Regions from separate parts of the Homo sapiens genome. Here region 1 is linked to region 2. The links are contacts of gene promoters, found by promoter capture Hi-C in blood cells and fetal thymus (Javierre and others, 2016). All regions are on one chromosome and are shown on one strand. The core of a region is centred on a gene start or on the middle of the fragment in contact, and the rest is flanking DNA. Distances in the headings are between cores, read along the strand shown.

Region 1 (3,885 bases), core at 790-3,289, 340 kb after region 2:
GGAGACGCGGAGACCGCAGGGGCGACCTGCCTGGTCTGAGGAGCTGGGAAAGGCTTGCCTGGGGAGGCCGCATGTGAGCTGACAGCTGAAGACAGACAAAGAGCCTTTTTCAATTAACAAAGAGGAAGAGGCCTCGCGGAAGATTTTTCCTGGGGGCTCAGAGTTTATGCAAATTAACCCAGCCCAGAACGAGGAATTCTAATTGGCCCCAGCAGGTGCCTCCTCGGCAGGGTCGTCCTGCAGTTGGGCACCTGTGTGAACGTCTCCATCAGGGTCCCCGAGGCCAGCACTGGCTGTCAGACCCAGTCTCCTCAGACCCGGAGATTTTTACCTGAAATTCACATTGAGTCTTCACTCCCCGTTCCTTTCGAACTAACTCCCCCTGACAGGCAAGTCCTTATAGAAAGCGACAAAGCTTCCAGTCCTGTGGCTTGGCTGAGAACGACTGAGAAACCAGGATGGGAAGAGGCCAAAGAGGACACAGTGGACTGAGCTGGGCTGGGCATCGGGGAAGGCTGGACCTCAGGGTCGTCAGGTCCCTGCAACGCGGGGCTGGCTCCGACGGTCCCTCTGGAAGGCGAAGCACTGCTGCACTAGTGAATTCATCCAGTGCATCCTCACAGAGCCCACCAGAACAAGGCGGTGGCAGGACTGGGGTCAGGGCTTCCCTTAGGTGCCACACGTTGTCACTGCCAGGATGAGGCATGGGAGCTCTGGCTGTGCCCACTTAAGCCCATCTGGAGGAGCAGGAAGTGCCACACCTAGAAGGTGGCAGGTGTGTTGAGGATGTGAATAAAGGTCAGCAGAGTGCCACAGGGAAAGTCAGCTGATGGCAGTGGGGACAGGGGTCCGGGTGGAAGGAGCCATTGGACATGGCTCATGGCAAAGCCAGCCTGGTGCTTCGGAGAAACTGGAGCGCAAAATACACAACAGAAGGGGCAAGAGAGGAGCCGCCCTGGCCCTGCAGGTAAGGATGAGCCTTCAAGCCAGATTAAGGAGTCAGGCTGTATCCTGAGGGCAAAGGAGAGCCACTGCAGGCTTTCCATGGAGGAGTGAGGAAACTGAGCACAAAGTAGATGTTCTTTAAACACCTTTGAGGCTGGGTGTGGGGGCTCGTAATCCCAACACTTTGAGAGGCCAAGGCAGGAGGATCATTTGAGGCAGGAGTTCAAGACCAGCATGGGCAACATAGTCAGACCCCCATCTCTACAAAAATATTTTTTAAAATTAGCCGGGCATGGTGGCATGTACCTGTGGTCCCAGCTACTCTGGAGGCTGAGGCGGGAGAATTGCTTGAGCCTGGGAGGTTGAGGCTGCAGTGAGCCAAGACTGTACCACGGCACTCCAGCTTGGTGGACAGGGCAAGACCCTGTCTTGCTACCTAGGAGGGGCCCACCAAGATTCACCTCCTAAGCAGAAACTCAGGTATGGTTGAAAGGGGCTTATTAAGGCTAACAAGACTCTCACCCCTATCATTCAGGAAACTCTAAAAGTTTTAGAAGCTCTTCTACCAGGAACAAAGTCCAAATATATATTGTTTATTATATCACAGTATCACATATTATAATCCCTAAGTTAGCCGCTATTAAAAATGCAAAAGTACAGCTAAAATGCCAATAAACTAATTAAAATGGGGATACCAAAAAATATGATTAACCTAAAAGAAGTCAGGAAAAGAGAAACAGGGAAACAAAACAAAACAAAAAAAACAGAAGGGACAAAAAGAGAACAAATGTCATAATGGCAGATCTAAATCCAGCTACATCTATAATCACGCTTAACAGAAATGCACTGAACATCCCACTTAAAAGGCAGAGATAATCTGGCTGAATAACACTGCAAGATCCAGCTATGTGTCATCTCCAAGAGATACATTTTATTTTTTGTTTTGTTTTGTTTTTTGAGACGGAGTCTCGCTCTGTCGCCCAGGCTGGAGTGCAGTGGCGCAATCTCGGCTCACTGCAAGCTCTGCCTCTGGGGTTCATGCCATTCTCCTGCCTCAGCCTCCCAAGTAGCTGGGAATACAGGCACCCGCCACCATGCCTGGCTAATTTTTTGTATTTTCAGTAGAGACAAGGTTTCACCGTGTTAGCCAGGATGGTCTCGATCTCCTGACCTCATGATCTGCCCACTTTGGCCTCCCAAAGTGCTGGGATTACAGGCGTGAGCCACCGTGCCTGGCCGAGATATATTTTAAATATAAAGACACAGACAGACTAAAAATAAAAGGATAAAAAAAAGTATGACAGGCAAACAATAAGTGCAAAAAACAGGTGTGGCTATGTTACTGTAATAGGCTCAAGACAAAGAGTATTGCCAAAGAGATAGAGGGAGACTGCATAATGACGAAAGGATATGTTTATTGGGAAATCCTAACAATCTTAAATGTATATGCATCTAATAACAATTTCAAAATAAATAAAGCAAAACCTGTCAGAATTAAAAGGAGAAATAGACAAATCCAAAAATTACAGTTGGAGATTTTAATACCTTTCTTTCAGCAACTGACAGAGTCAGTAAACAAAAAAAATCAAAAAATCAGTAAGGACATTGAGCATTCTAACAACTATTGTGACCTAATTGATATTTAAGGTCCACTACACCCCGTGATTACAGAATACATGTTCTTTACAAAGGCACGTGGAGCCCTCACCAAGATAGTCCATATGCTGAGACATAAAATAAGTCTGGACCAATTTTGAAGATCAAAATCTCACAGAGTATGACCTCAGATACAAAGGAATTATATAAAAGGAAAACATCTGTCTTAAGCCAAACCATCTGAAACATGCCCATCCAAATTTAGGGAAACTCATACAGCCAGATAAATAGACACAAATGTAATTTTATTAAGATCTTACATTAATATTCGTTCAGATTAATGTACACTGCCTCTCCCCAGCTGCTCTGAATCTCTGTGGTTTTGCCAGCCCCACCAGCCAAGTCTGCACTGAACCTAAAGCTCATTATCATTGTGACAACCTCCCATCACCTGCTGCTGGCACCTCTCTTGTGACACCCATTATTCTCTCTCTTGTTTTGTGATGGGGTAAGACAGCACATTCCTGGTCCTTTCTCCCCGACTGTCAGCTCCTCAAGGGCAGCATCAGGACCCGACACACGGTAGGCACCCAAAGGGCATGCTGCATGAAAGTGATTGCCGGCCGGGCGCAGTGGCTCACACCTGTAATCCCAGCACTTTGGAAGGCTGAGGCGGGTGGATCACCTGAGGTCAGGAGTTCGAGACCAGCCTGGCCAACATGGTGAAACCCGTCTCTACTAAAAATACAAAGATTAGCTGGGCGTGGTGGCGGACGCCTGTAGTCCCAGCTACTCAGGAGGCTGAGGCGGAAGAATCGCTTGAACCCGGTAGGTGGAGGTTGCAGTGAGCCGACATTGTGCCACTGCACTCCGGCCTGGGTGACAGAGAGAGACTTGTTCTCAAAAAAAAAAAGAAGGAGAAGAAGGAGGAGGAGGAGGAGGAGCAGCAGAAGAAGAAGAGGAAGAGGAGGAGGAAGAAAGTGATTGTCGTCATCATCACTGCCACTGTCACCATCATCATAGGATGACACCAAAGATCCCATCTCACTTAATGCTCCAGTCACTCAACCAGGGCAATCCCCACCACTCCTGAAGCACACAGATCTAGTGTTCCTAAGCTTTATTTCACATTCAGTAAGAAGCAACGCATCACCCCACCATAGACCCACACAACTGTCCTTCATTGTGGCAAGTCACTGGCACATGTTTGTGAGCACTTTGTTAGAGCTCAAGGTCAAATGAGGGCTCTAAGAGCCTAGAAATTGGAGACTGGCCTCCAGACTCTGTATGACCCAGATTGCAACTTCCACTGACCCAGGGGTGCTTGACTTTTTGGAGGGCAAT
Region 2 (3,875 bases), core at 647-3,146:
TTTTGTAAAGCTCTTCTTGGTATTATTGAATTTTATTCATAGCAAGACCCATCTGAGGCAATCCTGGTGCAATCTTCCTCACTTTGTCTGTCTTCCTTCCTTCCTTCTTTCCTTTCTCCCTTCCTTCTCTCTCTCTTTGTGTCTTTCTTTCTTTCTTTTTCTTTCTCTCTCTCTCTTTCTCTCTCCTTCCTTCCTTCTTTCCTTCCTTCCTCTCTCCCTCCCTCCCTCCCTTCCTTCCTTCCTCCCTTCCTTCTCTCTCTCTTTCTTTTCTTTCTCTCTCTCTTTCTGTCTCTCTCCTTCCTTCCTTCCTTCCTTCCTTCCTTCCTTCCTTCCTTCCTTCCTTCCCTTCTTTCTTTCCTCCCTCCCTCCCTCCTTCCCTCCCTCCCTCCCTTTCTCTCTCTCTCTCTCTCTTTCTTTCCTGTCTCCAATCATCCACCCACCCACCTATCCATCCACCCACCCGCCCATCCATCCATCCACCCACTCACCCATCCATCCATCCACCTACCCACCCACCCATCCATTCATCCACCCACCCATCCATTCATCCATTCTTTCACCTAGTCATCCACCGATTCAACCACCCATCCACCCATCCAGTTATCTACCCACCCACCCATTCACCACCCACCCACCCACCCATCCATCCACCCATCCATCCAATCATCCACCCATCCATCCAACCACCTATCCACCCACCCTTTCACCCATCCACCCATCTATCTATCTATCCATCCATCCTCCATCCATCCATCCATTCATTTAACAAAAGAGACAATCTCCTGTCCCCTTTGGGAACACTGCCAAGTTTTCTCTGCCTTGCAGCTGGGTCGAGTTGACATTTGGCAGAAGGAGGTGGGTGGTACATTTTGCATCAGGGCCTAGGCCTGCCTCAGACACAGGTGTTCAGCTCCATGCCAGGACTAATGCTGGGCATGGAAAGCTGGAGAGGTGGCTTTGTGCCCAGGGCCGGTTGTAGCATCTTGGCATGTTTCTGTTCCCAAAGTCCCCAGTGGGCACAGGGACATTCAGCCATCTTCAGAGATAGCTACCATTTAAAGCAACAAGGAGATAGGACAACCATCACTTTCCCTGACTCCAGTGAGACCTGGAGGCTGTCCTGCAAGTGAGATGCCACCTTAAGCTCTTCATGAGCAGAGTTGCCCATAGCCCTTAGCTCACTGCAGGAAGCAACCAATGTGGCCCCCACATTAGTAGCCCTCAGAGCCAGACCAAGTTCAAAATTTGGTTAACAAACCTGTAGGCTTCTTCTTGTTTTCAAATGTCACAGAAAATCTTTTTGTGCTATTGTAGGAATGGAATCTCTCCTTCCTTCAGCCTCATCTGAGTTGAGGTGGGGAGAGTTGGACACAAAGTTCAAGGGGAGAGAACACTCAAAACAGCCCCCAGAAAGCCAAGGCAGGGGTTGGCACACCAAAATGACACAGAGACAGCTCCATGCCCTAATGGGTCGATCCCATCCTTCAATAACAGTGGGTGGCTGGGATCTTCTGCATTTCACGGGAGGCTCAGGGAGATGAAGCAACTTGCCTGAGGTGTCACAGGTGTAGGAAGGAGAGTAGGGGCAGATGGGGCCCAACTCCAGGTTTGCCTGGATGCAGAGCCACGCGTTCCCCCCGCCTCCTCCTTGATGGGTTCTCTCTGCACGCTTCAGGGTGCCCCCATGCTCTGCTCGGCCCCTGCAGCAGGAGGGCACAGAGCTCACTGCTGGCTGGTCTCCATGGCAACAGCTGACGAGTCTGCATCAGATGATGGCAGAGCTGCCTTGGAGCGCGAGCTTGGCTGTGACGGCAGGGACTTGGGAGGAGAGGAGCTGGAGGAGTGGGGGATGGGGCATGAGCTGGGGTGCCGGATGGGCTGCTCTCCCAGCAGCCATTTGGAAGATGCTTCCAGTCAAGTCTCAATCTCAGTCGGTCACTGGTCCATGTATATTTCATGGACATCTACCCTGTGCTGGGCACTGGGCAGACAACAGTCTACTGGACCCAGTCTCACTCTCAAGGGGACTGTAGTCCAAGAGAGAGGCAGGTAGATTATCAGGTAATTCCAGCTCACCACGATTGATGGGAAGGTAGGGAAAGTTTGGGATACATGCAAGGCCGTAGGAGAGGCACCCCACCGGGGCTTGGGGGCAGGAAAGTTTTCCAGGAGAGAGGGATATCTACGTGGCTTTCTGGCGGGGGGGGGGGGGTCGGGGAGAGAGAGAGAGGGAGAGAGGGAGAGAGAGAGAGATGAATGAGATCTGCCAGGAGTCCTCAGTGCCTGGAGCTCCAAGGGAGGAAGGCTAGGGAGGGAAGCCATGCTTGTCCTGGGGCCGAGATGAGGAGGAAGGGGAGGGTCTGCTCCAGGCCAGCCCTGGACAAGGGGATAAATTTTGTCTTCACCAGACACTGAATTGGTCATCCTCACCTCCCACCTTACAGATGAAGAAACTGAGGCTCAAAGAGCCACAGCGGGACGGAGGAGGTGGACCCGGCTCTGATGCAGGTGGCTGGTTCGATGGCAGACTCCCCTGTGCCGAGACTCCCAGACCAAATCCGGAGGTCCTGGAGTAGAGTGGGTGGGTCCGCCAGGGCATGGCCAGGCTGCCTGTCTCTGGAGACTCCCCCAAGGAAGTTTCTTGACCTTGAGGATGATAACGCAGGGCAGGCTCTTGAGGGCTGTGCAGGGACTCCCTGGAGAGCCCTGGGAAAAGCAGGTCCCCGCCTGCCTGGGCCTCTGCCTCTGCTGCAGGGGCCAGCACAGGTGTCAGGTCCCCACACATTTCATGTCCAGGCCATTTTCCCACTCTAGGGCCAAGGCTGGGCACTTCCCAGTCAGTGGCACAGCTGGTACTGTGGGGTCTCTCGCTCTGCAAAGGTTGGTTTCAATCCCAAGTGTCACTGCTGGAAACACTGGCCACCCCGGGACATGTGGTCTTGCCAGTCCTTCTGCAGGGCTCTGTTTCTTAGGTCCCAATCATCTGCAGGGAGCACTAGTCCGAGATCTTCCAAGATGCTGGGCAGGAACAAGCCTGCTATGCTCATTCCCAAAGGACTCCACATCTAGATAAATGAAGGCCTGGAAGGCTCTTTGGCTCTACACTAGCAAAACAGCTTACGTCACCCTGCCTAAAGAGACAGTCAGGAAATCCCCTTGTTCCTGGGCGAGGAGAAGCTGGCCCACACGGAGTGACGGCATTGAGCAGATACTACCCTTGGCTCGCTCATGGATGGGGCGGGGCCTGCTGACCTTGACAGCAATCAGGGGAGGGGGTTTGGAGGGAAGGGGTTAGCTGGTGAAGGTGAGGGAAAGGACTGGAGTTAGGACAGGGTGCAGCGACCACATCCTGTGACGAGGAGGCATCTGTGACCTGTGTGATCTGCCAGGCAGGCAGCACAAGTCATTGTACTGCTACTATGCCCGCTACTGAGACAGGAACAAAGAGAGGCTGTTTCTGCCTCTTGGTGCTCTCCATTGGACATGTCTGCTGGGCAGTGCTGGCTTTTACCATAGGTATTTTTCTGCTCTTCCTTCCCTCCTCCTCTCCCTCTCTCTTTTCCAGGGCACTCACACACACACACTTGCACACATGTGCACAGTTGCACACACATGCATTGAACACATGTGCACATATATGCGTTTGCATCCACTTGCACACCCACACACCTGTGCACTAGCACCCATTTGCACGCATGTCCACACACTTGCACACATGTGCATTTGCAGAAATGCACCCTTGCACTTGTGTGACACACCTGCACACTTGCATACACCCATTTGCATACAGGCACAGACACACTCGCATACATTTGCACACACAGCCACAAACTTGCACAAGCAGCACTTGTACACTGACACATATCCGTTTGTGC

The links. Contacts are between HindIII fragments. The CHiCAGO score rates a contact against its expected background, and 5 or more counts as called.
Region 1: a fragment that was not itself captured here is called in contact with the fragment with the promoter of LINC01973 in region 2 in 1 of 17 cell types (megakaryocytes); the score reaches 8.3 in megakaryocytes.

What each region holds. Positions count from the first base shown.
Region 1 is chr17:77,537,420-77,541,304 of GRCh38, reverse strand. No RefSeq gene overlaps it. Among named protein-coding and RNA genes, the nearest start is that of MIR4316, 140 kb to the right of the region's middle. The HindIII fragment of the contact is 3,244 bases long and covers 418-3,661 here.
Region 2 is chr17:77,882,108-77,885,982 of GRCh38, reverse strand. LINC01973 (long intergenic non-protein coding RNA 1973) reads left to right here and starts at 1,896. Exons shown (of 2, transcript NR_028337.1): 1 at 1,896-2,061; 2 at 2,445-3,875. RefSeq lists an enhancer at 3,059-3,418. The HindIII fragment of the contact is 12,286 bases long and covers 1-3,875 here.